5 separate regions of the Homo sapiens genome follow, and regions 1, 2, 4 and 5 are each linked to region 3. The links are contacts of gene promoters, found by promoter capture Hi-C in blood cells and fetal thymus (Javierre and others, 2016). All regions are on one chromosome and are shown on one strand. The core of a region is centred on a gene start or on the middle of the fragment in contact, and the rest is flanking DNA. Distances in the headings are between cores, read along the strand shown. Region 1 overlaps OTUD4 (OTU deubiquitinase 4). Region 2 has its middle 48 kb from the start of OTUD4. Region 3 holds the start of SMAD1-AS2 (SMAD1 antisense RNA 2). Region 4 overlaps LOC124900794 (a long non-coding RNA gene). Region 5 has its middle 27 kb from the start of OTUD4.

The links. Contacts are between HindIII fragments. The CHiCAGO score rates a contact against its expected background, and 5 or more counts as called.
Region 1: a fragment that was not itself captured here is called in contact with the fragment with the promoter of SMAD1-AS2 in region 3 in 1 of 17 cell types (endothelial precursors); the score reaches 5.1 in endothelial precursors.
Region 2: a fragment that was not itself captured here is called in contact with the fragment with the promoter of SMAD1-AS2 in region 3 in 4 of 17 cell types (endothelial precursors, activated CD4 T cells, M2 macrophages and 1 more); the score reaches 7.3 in endothelial precursors.
Region 4: a contact is called between a fragment that was not itself captured here and the fragment with the promoter of SMAD1-AS2 in region 3, in 1 of 17 cell types (erythroblasts). The highest score is 6.2, in erythroblasts.
Region 5: a contact is called between a fragment that was not itself captured here and the fragment with the promoter of SMAD1-AS2 in region 3, in 5 of 17 cell types (erythroblasts, endothelial precursors, fetal thymus and 2 more). The highest score is 7.3, in erythroblasts.

What each region holds. Positions count from the first base shown.
Region 1 is chr4:145,159,884-145,163,054 of GRCh38, reverse strand. It overlaps OTUD4 (OTU deubiquitinase 4), which reads left to right. Exons shown (of 21, transcript NM_001366057.1): 6 at 334-415. Among named protein-coding and RNA genes, the nearest start is that of OTUD4, 19 kb to the left of the region's middle. The HindIII fragment of the contact is 2,660 bases long and covers 201-2,860 here.
Region 2 is chr4:145,227,616-145,230,525 of GRCh38, reverse strand. No RefSeq gene overlaps it. Among named protein-coding and RNA genes, the nearest start is that of OTUD4, 48 kb to the right of the region's middle. The HindIII fragment of the contact is 1,115 bases long and covers 946-2,060 here.
Region 3 is chr4:145,501,201-145,504,312 of GRCh38, reverse strand. SMAD1-AS2 (SMAD1 antisense RNA 2) reads left to right here and starts at 1,333. Exons shown (of 2, transcript NR_108077.1): 1 at 1,333-1,437. All of the region lies in intron 1 of SMAD1 (SMAD family member 1), which reads right to left. The HindIII fragment of the contact is 25,873 bases long and covers 1-3,112 here.
Region 4 is chr4:145,184,418-145,187,464 of GRCh38, reverse strand. LOC124900794 (a long non-coding RNA gene) reads right to left here. Exons shown (of 2, transcript XR_007058294.1): 2 at 2,623-3,047. Among named protein-coding and RNA genes, the nearest start is that of OTUD4, 5.4 kb to the right of the region's middle. The HindIII fragment of the contact is 519 bases long and covers 1,313-1,831 here.
Region 5 is chr4:145,205,944-145,209,129 of GRCh38, reverse strand. No RefSeq gene overlaps it. Among named protein-coding and RNA genes, the nearest start is that of OTUD4, 27 kb to the right of the region's middle. The HindIII fragment of the contact is 3,706 bases long and covers 1-3,186 here.

The sequences.
Region 1 (3,171 bases), core at 281-2,780, 340 kb after region 3:
AGAGGTTAGCATTAATAAGGTTTTGAAATATTTTCTTACAGTGTCTTGTTCTTTAAGTAGTTGAAAGCATGTTTTCATATATTATTTTTATTTTTTTGTGATCCTATAAACATTTCCAGAAATCATTTTGAATTTTTTGATTTAATGTTTATATAACATTTCAGCATATGGATGTACTGTAGCTTGACAACACTGAAGCTTTAGGTTACTCCTAAAATACTCACTGTCTGTTTGGAAATGATCTAGTAATTCAGAGGCATTGGAGACATACATTGCTATGTAAATGTTATATGTATGAGGGGCTGAAATGTTTCTTTTATTTTTCCCTTTCAGGTGTTACTGTGTTTTTCAAATGGAAATCATTATGATATTGTGTATCCCATAAAGTATAAAGAAAGCTCTGCTATGTGTCAGTGTAAGTATCACCTTGTGTTTATATGGGAAATTATATTCCTAAACTTATACAGTCTTTTTGTTTTTTGTTTTGTTTTTTGTTTTTTTTTGAGACGGAGTCTCGCTCTGTCTCCCAGGCTGGAGTGCAGTGGCGTGATCTCCGCTCACTGCAAGCTCTGCCTCCGGGGTTCATGCCACTCCTGCCTCAGCCTCCCGAGTAGCTGGGACTACGGGCGCCCGCCACAACGCCTGGCTAATTTTTTTGTATTTTTAATAGAGACTAGGTTTCACCGTGTTAGCCAGGGTGGTCTCGATCTCCTGACCTCGTGATCCGCCCGCCTCGACCTCCCAAAGTGCTGGGATTACAGGCGTGAGCTACCGTGCCCGGCCTTATACAGTCTTAATGTAAACAAATCAGAGCAAATAATTCTATTCTGTTATAATATAAAAGATATGTCCAAGAACCTTAAATTACCAAGAGTATTAATATTATAATAAAAACTTGTTGCAGTAGGAGGAAAGGTAGCTGGGCATGGTGGCGCATGCCTGTGGTCCCAACTACTTGGGAGGCTGAGGTGGGAGGATCACTTGAGCCCAGGAAGTCAAGGCTGCAGTGAGCTATTATTGTGCCACTACACTCCAGCTTGGGCAGCAGAGTGAGACCTTGTTTCAAAGTGAAGCAAAGCAAAACAAAACAGAGAGAAATTGGAGGAAAGGGAGCTTGTGGCTAGAGTTTGACTTGTAAATACCAACTTTTTTTTCCTGCAATCATTTTGGTAATAAAGATTTATATGCATTTTAAAAACTGTTAGTGTATAGCTTGAAAATCCAAATGACTGAGCAAATCAAACATTTGATTGTATTTGGCTCCGGGGCAGCATTTTGAACCTTGGAACTATTGATATTTTCGGCCAGATACTCCTCTGTTGTAGGCTCTCTTGTGAACTTCAGAATGTTAAGTAGCATCCTTGGCTTCTACCTAGTGGATGGCAGTAACACACTCTCTCTCCCTTTGTGACAACCAATAATATTTCCAGATTTTGCCAAATGTTTCCTGGGCATATGAATTCCCTTTGCCCTTCTTCTGTGTGAGAATTCCTGCTGTAGAAGAGCAGTGACCCTTCCTACCAGTTTCTTTTATATCATCCGTTCTGGCAAAGTACAGATCAGTCATAAAGCAGTGGTGCTGGGCTTGTGACAGCTTTTTCCTCTGCTCTTAAGCTAGTGGTAACCAGTAAAGATATGTGCAATACACTATTTTAAATAATTAATCCATTGTAAGATATCGAAGTGTAGCCTCTGTACCCTGGGCTGTGTCTTCTCCCTCCTAGCTAGTCACAATCTGGACACCTCAGCTTTGGGAAAGATAGCTCCTAGAGCTTGTCTTTCCTGTGATTCTAAGTGCCTGTGGTTTGGGTGATACGAGGGCTGCAACTCCTGTTACTGGAACCTGGAAGAAAGATGGTCTATAAGAAGGAAGTCTCTGTGGGAACTCATTTAGAGGTGGACACCCAGTGTTTGTTGTTGTTGTTGTTGTTGTTGTTGTTGTTTTGAGGTGGAGTGTTGCTCTCTCGCCTAGGCTGGAGTGCAGTGGCACAATCTTGGCTCACTGCAACTTCCGCCTCCTGGGTTTAAGCTATTCTCCTGCCTCAGCCTCCCGAGTAGCTTGGATTACAGATGCCCGCCACCAAGTCTGGCTAATTTTTGTATTTTTAGTAGAGATGGGGTTTCACCATCTTGACCAGGCTGGTCTTAAACCCCTGACCTCAACTGATCCGCCTACCTCAGCCTCCCAAAGTGCTGGAATTACAGGCATGAGCGCTATCCTGTCCGGCCTTTGCTGTTTTTTAAGACAGGGTCTCGCTCTGTCACCCAGGCTGGAGTGCAGTGGCATGATCTCAGTTCACTGCAACCACTGGCTTCTGGGTTCAAGCGATTCTGCTGCCTCGGCCTCCTGCGTAGCTGGAATTACAGGTGTGCACCACCACACCTGGGTAATTTGTGTATTTTTAGTAGAGACAGGGTTTCACCATGTTGGCCAGGCTGGTCTTGAACTCCTGACCTCCAGTGATCTGCCCGCCTTGGTCTCCCAAAGTGTTGGGATTACAGGTGTGAGCCTCCACACCTGGCCCCATTGTTGATGAATTCTTAGTACATTGTTTTCTTAAAGCTCATTGTTATAAAACCAAATCAGAGTCCTAAAATCCATGTATTTTTGAATTTTTGTTAAAATATATTTCCCTATATTCAAGACTGGAGTTTTAAAATTTTACTTTATTTAAAGCAGCAAAGTTGTCTAAATATGCTTCTTTCTTTCAGTGGCTGCTGAGAATATATTTTGTAACAGCTGCTTTTTTAGTTCCTTATGTAAAATTAAAATCTGGAGCTAGGTTATGTAGTCAAACATCCTCTTTTTCTATAGCAACCTGAGAAGTGCTCGTCCAAGGTTACAATTAGTGGGAAAGCTTAGACTAGCATCCAAGTCTTCTGACTTGTCAGCTAGTATGTACTATACTATATTCCTCTTTCTAGCAATCTTAAAGCTTCTTAATGTTTTTAATCTAAGTCTCTTAAGATTGGGCATGTTGTATGACATCCCTAAGTCTCAGTTTCCTTATCTGTAGAATCAGAATAATGCTTCACTGTGCTGGAATTAAACGTAAGGATATATAAAGCTGCACAGTGTGTGGAATGTAGTAGTAATAATTGCTCAGTGTGTGTGTTTTGGCTTTTCCTGTTGTCCTACTTGTTTCACAGTTGTGATACCTTTTTGTGATG
Region 2 (2,910 bases), core at 254-2,753, 270 kb after region 3:
GTGAGTACTTACATGCACATCTTAAAATCTGTGACCCCAAAGGAATTAAGAACCACCAATCTCTCTCTCTTTGTTTTTTGTTTGTTTGTTTGTTTTTGTTTTTTTGAGACAGAGTCTTGGTCTGTCACCCAGGATGGAGGGCAGTGGTGCCATCTCAGCTCACTGCAACCTCCACCTCCCGGATTCAAGCGATTCTCCAGTCTCAGCCTCCCAAGTAGCTGGGACCACCATGCCTGGCTAATTTTTTGGCATTTTGAATAGAGACGGGGTTTCACCATGTTGCCCAGGCTGGTCTTGAACTCCTGGCCTCAAGTGATCTGCCTGCTTTGGCCTCCCAAAGTGCTGGAATTACAGGCATAAGCCATTGCACCAGGCCTTCTTTTTTTTTTTTATGTATAACAAATAGAATTTATTTCTCACAGTTCTGGATGCTGGGAAGTCCAAGGTCAAGGTGCCAGGAGGTTCTGTGTCTGGTGAAGTCAGCTCTCTGCTTCATAGGTGGTGCTCTGTTGTTGCATACTCACATGGTGGGAGGAAGACAGGCAAGAGGGCCTGACTAGTTCTCTCCACCCCCAAGGTCACTAATGAGAGCTCCACCCTCATGACCTAATCAGCTTCTACAGGCCCTCTATACCTAATTCCATTGCACTGGGTATTTAAGTTTCAACATGAATTTTGAGGGGGACATAAGCTTTCAAACCATAGCGCCTCCCTAATGAATAAGTTTCTTGTATGTATTTTATTTTTTCTTCCAGTGCAAGTATTTCTGTTTCTATGAGCTCTCTAAATAGTGATTCAGGGACTCAGATTTCATCCATCTTTGACCTTTTCATCTTCAACATATGATTCCTAACATCATAATAGTAAAGTTTGCCTTCATTCCAGCCAATTTAAAGAGGAAAAGAGCATGGATGATCAAACATGCAGTTTTTCATGAGCCAAGCTTGAAAGAGGGATAAACCCTTTATACTCACCTCCCATTGGTCAATTCAGTCTCAATGTGTCACCTACATACAAGGGGATGGGAAATGTGGCTCCTGGATGAGTGTTTACTTCCTAGAATAATCTGACATTAGGAAAGTATAGAAAGAAAATTTTGAGAACCACTAGTCTCTAGATTGAAACCATGTATTATGACTTTCTAGATCAGAAGTGAGTAGTTTAAGGCATTAATGTATAAGGAGAACAGGGTATTGTTGGAAGTCTGTACATGGATATTCTCTGTATGCTTCTCCAGACCCACTATCTATTCTTTCTGGCTCTTCTTTGAACCTCTGGTGACTGAGCTGTGCAGAATGCATCATGGATCCCCTGTCTTCTGGCTTCCAGTTGGTTCCAGAAGTCAACAGGCAGGAGCAGAGGCCTGGCTAGCTTCCTGCAGGTCTACAGTATGGCAATAGTTGTGTGCCCCCACTAAGACCCTACTTTTGTCTGGCACATTCAGCCTTTGCCAGCTTCCAATTGCCAATCCCTCATATTGCCCCCTTAGCCCTTAGATTTATTTGACTCATGGTTCTGCAGACTGGGAAGTCCAAAAGCATGGTGCTCTAGCATCTGCCAAGGGTCACCCCACAGTGGAAGGCAGAATGACAAGGAAGCATACAAGGCAGAGAGAAAATCAAGCCAAACTCATCTGTTTATCAGGAGACCACTCCCAAGATAATGGCATTAATCTTTCACCTCTTAGAGGCCCCACTTCTGAATACTGTTACAAAGGCAATTAAGTTTCCAACACATGAAATTTTGGGGGACACATTAAAACCATAACATAGGCATATGTCAAAATGCATCTAAATGGGGGTTCCATTCCAAGATGGTCGAATAGGAACACCTCCGGTCTGCAGCTCCCAACACGATTGATGCAGAAGACAGGTGATTTCTACATTTCCAACTGTGCTCTGAAGAGAGCAGTGGTTCTCCCAGCATGGCCTTTGAGGTCTGAGAACAGACAGACTGTCCCCAAGTGGGTCCCTGAACCCCATGTAGCCTAACTGGGAGACACTTTACAGTAGGAGCCAATGGGCACCTCATACAGACAGGTGACCTTCTGGGACGAAGCTTCCAGAGGAAAGATCAGGCAGCAATATTTGCTGTTCTGCAATATTTGCCGTTCTGCAGCCTCTGCTGGTGACACCCAGGCAAACAGAGTCTGGAGTGGACCTCCAGCAAACTCCAGCAGACCTGCAGCTGAGGGACCTGACTTGTAGAAGGAAAACTAACAAACAGAAAGGAATAGCATCAACATCAACAAAAAGGACATCCACACCAAAACCCCATCTGTAGGTCACCAACATCAAAGACCAAAGGTAGATAAAACCACAAAGATGGGGAGAAACCAGAGCAGAAAAGCTGAAAATTCTAAAAACCAGAGCCTCTTCTCCTCCAAAGGATCACAGCTCCTCGCCAGTAATGGAACAAAGCTGGATGGAGAATGACTTTGACGAGTGGACAGAAGTAGGCTTCAGAAGGTCAGTAATTACAAACTTCTCCAAGCTAAAGGAGCATGTTCTAACCCATTACAAGGAAGCTAAAAACCTTGAAAAAAGGTTAGACGAATGGCTAACTAAAATAAACCGTGTAGAGAAGACCTTAAATGACCTGATGGAGCTGAAAACCATGACACGAGAAATTTGTGATGCATGCACAAGCTTCAATAGCCGATTTGATCAAATGGAAGAAAGGGTATCAGTGATTGAAGATCAAATGAATGAAATAAAGTGAGAAGACAAGGTTAGAGAAAAAAGAGTAAAAAGAAATGAACAAAGCCTCCAAGAAATATGGGACTATATGAAAAGACCAAATCTACATTTGATTGGTGTACCTGAAAGTGCTGGGGAGAATGGAACCAAGTTGGAAAACACTCTTCAGGATATTATCCAGGAGAACTTCCCCAACCTAGCAAGGCAGGCC
Region 3 (3,112 bases), core at 84-2,583:
AAGTAGCAATGTTCTTTGATCTGGTTCAACAAATAATGTTCAAATGCTTCTTTAACCCAGTTACTCCAGTTAGGAGCTAACCAGGTTTTCAGATACAGTAAAGTCCTTACGGGTTCTTGGAAACTGTGGCTCTAAGTGAAACGATGTAAAACAAAATTAATTTTAGCATCAGCTAATTTATATAAACAAGAGTTAAGTTCCTTCAGGACATTTCTGGTCACAAAAACATTACCAAACTTCTGAGACCCAAAACACTTCTAAAATTAACACTGAAATAAATGTGAGCCATATATACATTTAAGAAAGATGAACAGAAACAAGATAATTATTTACCCAATTATTCCAATTCAGGGTCGCAGTGGCCCGAGCCGATCCCAGCAGCTTAGGGCACAAGGTGGGAACCACCCCTGGACAGGACACCATTTCATGGCAGGGCGCACTCACACACACACCTACATGCACTGCAATGGGGACAATGTAGACATACTAATTCACCTAACGTGCACACCTTTGGGATATGGGAGGAAACTAGAGTAGCCAGAGAAAACCCAAGCAGACATGGGGAGAATGTGCAAACTCCACACAGACAGTGGCCTAGGCTGGGAATGTTTTTTCTCATCAACGTTATAAGGAAATGGCATTGAATGAAATGAGGTTGTCTGAGGACCTGCTGTATTTGTATTGGAGGAGGAAACAGGTGAAGTGCCTGCATTCCTTTTTCCTGTTTTAAAACAGCAGTTAGCCCTCAACTTTCAACATTTGTCTCAATCTCAAATGAGTCAAATTTAGCTAAATAAAACTCACCACTAAGCAAAATAAGGGAGGAAAAAACCTCTAGAACAGAAAGAAAAATGAAAATGGATAAAACCTTGCTCTTTACTGATGCTAACGTACTTCATAAAGTACAGCGCTTAACTTCATTGCTAAAAAGGCTATAATGAACTCTATTTCGCTTTAGTCCTTAGGGGAAAAATGTATTTAAACCAAATTCCTACACAAGAAAGCCATACGGAGACCCACAGAGAACACAGAACTCTGCTGCTCTCAGTTCACAGCAGCAGGAGAGTCCTACCATCACAAACACCACAAGTAAAGTTCCATCTTACTGAGCCTCTTACTATTCAGCCTTGATCTGGCTACTTCCAAACATGGGACTGATGATGCAGAATAGCTAGTTTGACATTTTTCCCACTGAAAATTTATTTTTGCCGGAGACTGATTTTCTAAATCTGGAGAAATTGGGGGTTGGAGATAGGAGAGAGGTTCAGTTCGTGAAATTCTATTTATAGTGATGCAATAATGCAGGTACTATTGCCTTTAAAGCGCAGACACTGTGCGTTTAAAGCGCAGACACTGACAGCAAGTCTTCCAGTCTCTCCAGTATAACTTAAGTGACATGCCAGCAAGAGATGCAATTTGGTCCCTCAACAGTGTTAAGTGAGTAGAAATCTTAGGAATCAAAAAGAAAAGGAATACCATGTAGACTGAATTCCAGCTTACTACTTACCACTTGTAAGTTCACTGAAGCTGTGAAATTTCAGCCAAACAATTTCAAAAGTAGCATCTCCTTGATGAAAAGGAAGCAAGGAACTTATGGATGTCAGAATGACAAGAGTCTCTAAGGATATAACTGTAGTTTATTTATTTTAGGTGTGCCAAGTGTGCTATTAACGTATCTTCATTATATCAGAAAATTCTTTAAAAAGAGTTCTTTCTGGTTCTGTTCTGCATACACAAATCCTTCCATCCTGACAAATCTAGGCTGCTAATAGAGTACCTGGTTAATTTTTCTTAATCACAGAGATTCCCTATAAAATAGCAGCTGTCACATCTGTTTTGTCTGATTAGATGATTACTTGAATAGTTAAGGCAATTGAAAGTTTTCTTATTGTCCCCAACTTCAACAAACAAAGTTGGCTTTTCTATATCTTCTTGCCATTTCCTCTAAAAGTTGTACAACATTCCTTAATCCCATTGAACCCCCATTCCCAAATTCATGCTTGTAATGGCATACTGTCCTTCAGGACACGGTAGCCTTTCAAGATGTCCAGCTCCCCATAAGCTCATCCTGATAAAGGCCATTCACATTCATGTCAACTCAAACACTGTAAAGACTCCTGGCCTACAAATGCTCACTCCTCAAACACAGGAAAGATTGAAGACCACAGACATTTTAAGATTTAATTTTATTGACTATCCCAGGAGAAAGTCTATGGTAGTTGTCTCAGAAAAAACTATTCTCTTTGAGTCAGTTATCCTAAAATAGCAATTTTAGACTACAAAGAATGCTAAATGTGGTAGATTTCCGTAAGTGGCTAGTTATGAATGATTCGTCAGTAGCTAATAAACGAAATTGTTTGAGTTACCAACTTATACAAGCATTATACTGGTTGTTTTTACAAACATTATTACATTGACTCCTCACACCAATGCTTCAAGGTAGAAATCATTATCTCAATTTTAGTAATAAACTTGAGGCTCAGAGGTTAAAGTAACTTTCTCCAGACCATATTCTGGTAAGTAGTATATCTATATTTTAAACCAGTACTGACTAATACTGAAGTCCCTCAGTCAAGTTTAAAAAAAAAAAAGGTAATCCAAATATCAAATTCACAGATGAAAATGGAATCAACTACAGGAGGAAAAAACTATCCCTTTAAAAAAAAAAAAAGAAACAAAAATCCTGCTGTATTTCATGTTTTGGAACATATTTCTCTCGCTCCACTGATCTCACAGGTGCTGTTTATGACAACAAACATGCACATCTGTAGGGGTGAACTGACAGACACAAAGCAGGACGGCCTGAACTCTCTTCCTATATTTAGATCCTTCAGCTCAGCTCTTAATTGCATAATTTAATCAGGACCCTCTAGAAGGGAAACACATCCATATTCATCACAGGCATCAAAGGAAACATCTTTACAAGTTATATCCTTTTACAAACCAACATATGGTCTCACGCCACTTTCCCAATTGTTGAACTCCTCCTCTGGGAAGAGCATGGAATTTTATTTCTTTTTATCACTTGAAAAAATCACTTCCCTCCTAATTCAGTAAAACTGGGTGGAGGCCACTTCCTCCACAGGTGAGAGAAATAAAACTTGTTGATCTG
Region 4 (3,047 bases), core at 323-2,822, 320 kb after region 3:
GATTATCTTCAATTTGTTTGGTTAGGAAGATGGTATTAAGTATTACTTAACATATAATCTTGGTCCACTGTTCTATATCAAATATTTAGACCTCAACCTACAGGTTGAGGTTCCATAACCTGTGGTTATTTATGTATTTTCATTTGAAATACTTTCTTCTTTGAGCATTTCATTGGGAATACATGAAATCATTTAATGAATATTCATTGAATTTTTAATCTGAATATGCAAAAGCAAATATACTATTAGACACTTGAAAAAGAAAAAAAGAATCTTAAATTCTACAAGCCTACAAAGAGTTTACAATCCTATTTGGGGAGCTAAAGTAAATACCTTGCAATGGGACTTTGCAAGTTTGCTTCTGTCAGGGTGGAATCAAGAGGTAGTGGTGGAAGGAGAGGTAAATGGTTGGAAGTACGTGGAGGTTTTATTTGCAGAGATAATGGACTATGACTAGCTATAGCTACTTGTGTAAGAGCCTCAGTCTACTGTGAGGTTTATTAGTTCATCCAGCTTAGGCATAGGAATATACGGAAGTCGAAGCTCTAATAAGAAACTAAATCATAGTTTCACTTCTCTAGTCATACAGGTTATAGGGTCTCAGGACTGCAGTCCTAGCTCTGGGGTTTGAAACTTATTCAGTTCATCTGTCTAAAGTGCAGATGGGGGCTCTTTTTTCTCTACTAGGATTGAGTAAGGATCTCATGGCATATACCAACTTTGGTACTACAGAGCAGTCAAGCTACGAAGTGCTGGTACAGTTAAGTAGCATGGCCAACAAGAGATGCTCCCTCATGCGGAGGCTGGATGGTGAGCTAGAAAAGACAGATATCTGAGCATTTGCAGCCAAGCCCCTTGCAAGGTCCTTCTCTAGGTTAGCTCACTTGGCTAATAGATGGCACCAGGGTCCTGGCCCCTTTACCCTTCCTTGTACTTCCTTCCTTCTTTCCTTTTTTTTTTTCTTTTGTAATTTTTTGAATTGATCTTGATGACCATTAAGCCAGAGTGAAATTTTAAAAATTACTTTAAAAACTAAGAAAAGTGGTCTTCTTTTCTTTCAAGCCTTGATCTTCAAACACTCTCCTGCAGTAAGAAGTATTTGCTTCCCATTTTGGGAGATGAAGTCTCCCCTCTGTAATTCTTTTGATCCTTTTGCTCTAGCAAGGAAAAGGTAAACTAACTCATGCAATGTTATTTTCTGCTATGCAGGAATGTATAGTATTGAAGACTTGGAAGGCTTGTGAAGGACTTTGCTAAGGTTGATATTCCAAGTTACCAGAGAAGGTGGGCAATGCGTATAGAATCATAAGCTTACTAGGTAAAATCTTTTACTACTACCAGCCAGTTCCTCCTTGTGATAGCTTGCAAATGAAACACAAAAGCTATAGCATACATTCTCTCCTATCATTTCATTCTGTTGTAAATTTACAGATAAGATTATTTTTCTGAATGATCATTCCTCCAAAATATAAATTGGAAATGTAGTCCCATCACACCAGTTTTTTCCTGATTTTCCTGAGCATTTAACTAAATTATTTCATTTGCAAAAAGTTGGTTTTTATCACCTTGACTATAACTCCTTATTGTTTCTCATCTATTCCACAGAGAATGGATAACGATTAAGCAAAAACAAGAGCTATCTACCATAATAAATGATACATCATTAAATCATTCAGCAAATGTTGTGTTTTTTGAGTATCTACTATTTAAACCCAATGCTTGATGTTAGAGTGCTTGAGGGGGATGGTTTTAAGGGAAAAATGAGTTTACTTTTAGAAATGTGTTTTAGATGGAAATGTCCTGCATGGACTAGAGATAAGACATTAAAGCTTGAAAAAGAGAACAGGGCTAAATAAAGTTAAAACTTGAGACCTGGGGCACCCCCACATTTAGGAGATGGGGAGTGGGGGAGAAAAGGAATCAGCAAAGGAGATATAATCAAGACAAGATATTTAAATAGCTTGACTACACAAGATATCTCACCTTACAAAAGGTGAAGGAGAGTAACAAAATGAAAAGGTGGTCAACACCATCAAATGTAGCAGCTGAAGGGGAATGTGGGTTGGTGAGGGAGAAAGTCATTAGTTGAAATAACACCATTATTTCGATGTTAAAACTTCATATTTTGAAGCCCTTTAACATTTGGAATCTTGCAATTAAGACTTTGGCAATTCCCTAACTTCTCAGAAAAAAGAATTATGGGCCAGGTGTGGTGGCTCACGCCTGTAATCTCAGCACTTTTGGAGGCTGGGGCAGGAGGATTGCTTGTACTCAGGAGTTTGAGACCAGCTGGGGCAACATGGCGAAAACCCATCTCTACTAAAAACACACAAAATATTAGCTGGGAGTGGGGGTGCACACCTGTAGTCCCAGCTACTTTGGAGGCTAAGGTAGGAAGATCACCTGAGCCTGGGGAGGTGAGCCGTGATGGTGCCACTGCACTCCAGCCTGGGTGACAGACTCTGTCTCAAAAGAAAAAAAAAAAGAATTATGTTCTGCTCAACTCAGAAACTCTTATAAATAAATTTAATTTGTCCCAAATGTTATCACTTATTTAATATTTGAGGGGGAAATGTGCTAGAATACATAGACTAAGTAGCTATAATAACAACAGCAGCAACGGTTGGTAAAATAAGTTTATTTCTCACAGTCTGGAGAGGACTGGTTCAAGGATCACAGGCTATGAAGTATTCAGGAGCTCAGTCCTCCATCTCATTGCTCTGTTATCTTACGGTGTTGTCTTTGCATGATCAAAGCTGGGTAACTAGTTTCGTTTTTTGTTTTTTTTTTTTGAGACGGAATCTCCCTCTGTTGCCCACCCAGGCTGAAGTGCAATGGCCGGATCTTGGCTCGCTGCAACCTCCGCCTCTCGGTTTCCAGCGATTCTTCTGCCTCAGCCTCCCGAGTAGCCGGGATTACAGGCGTGTGCCACCACAACCAGCTAATTTTTGAATTTTTAGTAGAGCCAGGATTTCACCATGTTGGTCAGGCTGGTCTCAAACTCCAGACCTCGTGATCCGCCTGCCTCGGCCTCCCAAAGTGCTGGG
Region 5 (3,186 bases), core at 119-2,618, 300 kb after region 3:
CATTTCCCAGATCTAAGCCAATTCGACAGCTTGGGACCCTTTGAAAGGGAGAGTGGGGTTTTTTTTCTTTTTTTCTTTTCTTTGTTGAAACGGAATTTTGCTCTTGTCACTCAGGCTGGAGTGCAATGGCACGATCTTGGCTCTCTGCAACCTCTGCCTCCTGGGTTCAAGCAATTCTCCTGTCTCAGCCTCCCAAGTAGCTAGGATTACAGGCACCGGCCAACATGCCCGGCTAATTTTTGTATTTTTAGTACAGATGGGGTTTCACTATGTTGGCCTGGCTAGTCTCGAACTCCGGACCTCAGGTGATCCACCTGCCTTGGCCTCCTGAAGTGCTGGGATTACAGGTGTGAGTCACCGTGCCCAGCCAGGAGTATGGGTTTTATCAGGAAGGATCTGAAAACACTGCCTGCTTGTACTAGAAATCGTCCTTCAAACCTACCCCGTGAGATCTGCAGTCCTTTACCAGGATGACTGTGCACTGGGAAAAGACAAGTATCCAAATTTGGGGGAATTCATAGATTTGAGTTGATGCTAATCAAATTTGAGTTGATGCTAATCCCTGGGAAAAATCACTGTGATCCATCATTCATTCAGAATGGGGGCTTATAGAGGTCAGGGGGTTAATGGAGTTTGGGGCTGAGACTATGTCACAGTGGGCCCAGTGGGCTCGCAGCCCCATCCTGTGGTTATATCCTCTGTCTCTGGATATATCTCTGGATAGTTGAGGTAGACATACCTAGCAACTGCAGAATCTCACATGCAACTACTCATAACTCAGAGTACAGTGGAGAGGGGAGCAAAAAGAAGATATTCGGTACAGCCTCTTTTCTCACCCATCGTGGTACTTGATTGCATACAAAGTGACCATAGCAGTAGGGATAGAGTCAATCATAACAGGGACTTCAATAACAGAGACTTCCCTTAACAAGGCTGATCTGACTATAGCCACTGCTGGGTGCCCAACCAGCCAACAGCAGAGGCCAACACTGAGTCACTGATAGGGCACATTTCCCAGAGGAGACCAGCCAGCTGTTTTGTGGTAGGTAGACAATAGTGAGCTCCTTCCATCACAGAAGGAGCAAATTAAGCACTTACTGAGGATATGCATTGGTCCTCAATGCCTGCAATAAATCTCCCAATACCATCTATGGGTTCACAGGAGGCCTTATTCAGTAGCATGGTATTCCTTACAATATGACTTCTGGAAACCATTTTACAAAAAAAAAAAAAAAAAAGTACAATTGTTCATTGCTCATGGAGTTCACTGGTCTTACTACCTAAATTATCAGCCAGAAGCAGCTGGCCTAATAGAATGGAAGAATAGCTTACTAAGAAGCCAGTTATGTCATCTGCCAGAAGACAACATTCTATGATGTAGGGGTGCAGTATAACTCTGATCCAGCTCTCTACTTATGATGTGTTATTTCTCTCATAGCCATAATACATGGGATAGTCCAAGTGATAGAAATGGGAGTGGCCTCTCTCCCTGTTAAGCCTAGCCCTTTCTCAGAGGTTTTGCCTCTCATTCTCACCCTTGGGCTTTGCTAGTTTACAGGACTTAGTTCCCAAAGAGGAATATTGTCACCAGAGAATCCAACACAAGTCCCATCAAATTGGAAGCTGAGACTCACCAACAAGTAGAGAAGGAAGTTGCTGTAGAGACTGGAAAAATTGATCTGATTAACACAAGAAAACTGGGTGGCTGGTGCATGGTGCAGGTAGGGAGGATCATGTCTAGAACCCCAGGGATTCTCTAGGATATCTCATTACTTCTATGTCCAGTGTAAAGCCACCCAATAAAATCTGAACTTCTATGGACTAAGATCCTTCAATATAAAGGTCTTAGTCACCCAATCAGGTACAGAATCCCAACAAATCCAGGTGCTATATTAGGACAAAGCAATCATGAAATGGGTGGTGGAAGAAGGAAGTAATAAATATCACTCTTGACCCTGTAATCAGTTACAGAAATATGGATCATAGCAGCTATGCACATACACGCACACAATATTTCATATGTGCCAGTTTTTTTTTCTTTCAGATTTTCTTACCATTATCTTCCCTCTTATGTTGAATGAGAATTGGTAGTGACTAATTTTACAATTTAGTTCACAGGTAACCAGGACCACAAGGAACCACAACAGGGAGGATTACAGGATTGTGTTATCACCTGGAAAATCTTGAGATAGGTACAATGGCTGACTTTTCTAGGACCTTGTGTGTCCATTTTCTGGAAAAAAAGACAACAGTATCTTTGTTTGCATGATGGATAGTAGACTCATGTTAGGCAGAATCATGGAGTTGCTGTTGTATTGGTATAAGGGTGTTATGGTTTGGCTCTGTGTCCCCACCCAAATCTCACCTTGAATTGTAATAATCCCCATATGTCCTGGGAGGAACCTGGTGAGAGGTAATTGAATCATAGGGGCGGGTTTTCCTCCACTGTTTTCATGATAGTGAATAAGTCTCATGAGATATGATGGTTTTATAAAGGGGAGATCCCCTGCACAAGCTCTCTTGCCTGCCACCATGTAAGATGTACCTCTGCTTCCCCTTTGCCTCTGCCATGATTGTGAGGCCTCCCCAGCCATGTGAATGTGTGAGCCCATTAAATTTCTTTCCTTTATAAATTACCCAGTCTCAGGTAAATCTTTATTAGCAGCATGACAACAGACTAATACAAAGAATAAGAATAGATCCTGAATGGCAAAATGGTTAGACTCTCAAATAAATTTTCTGCCTTTTCTGTGCTCCCCCCACGCTATCTCACAGGAAAGTACATTTTCCAGGTTCCTTCTTCCTCTGGCTTCCAGACAGGTTCAGCCAATGGAAAACACTGGTGGAAAATTGAAGTACAGGAGGAAACAAGAAGGTAAATTACTTGTAACTCTGCTAGGGGTGGTGGTAGCTTATTGTGGGGCCAGTCTCTTGGTTGCCTCAATGTCCTATGCTTAAATTTTCAGCTTTTGTTTCTGACCATTAATTCTCCGTATCAAAGCTCCCTCTGGTGAAACATCTTGAGTGGTTTATGCTTTCCTTCCTGGACCTTGAATGAAACTATATGTATATATATATTTCATTATAAACTACTTCAAACTGTTCTGAAAGTAGGTAGGAGTTTTTTAAATTAAAAGATATTGAAATTGTACTTGAAATTTTGTCACAATTATCTCTTTAAAAAGT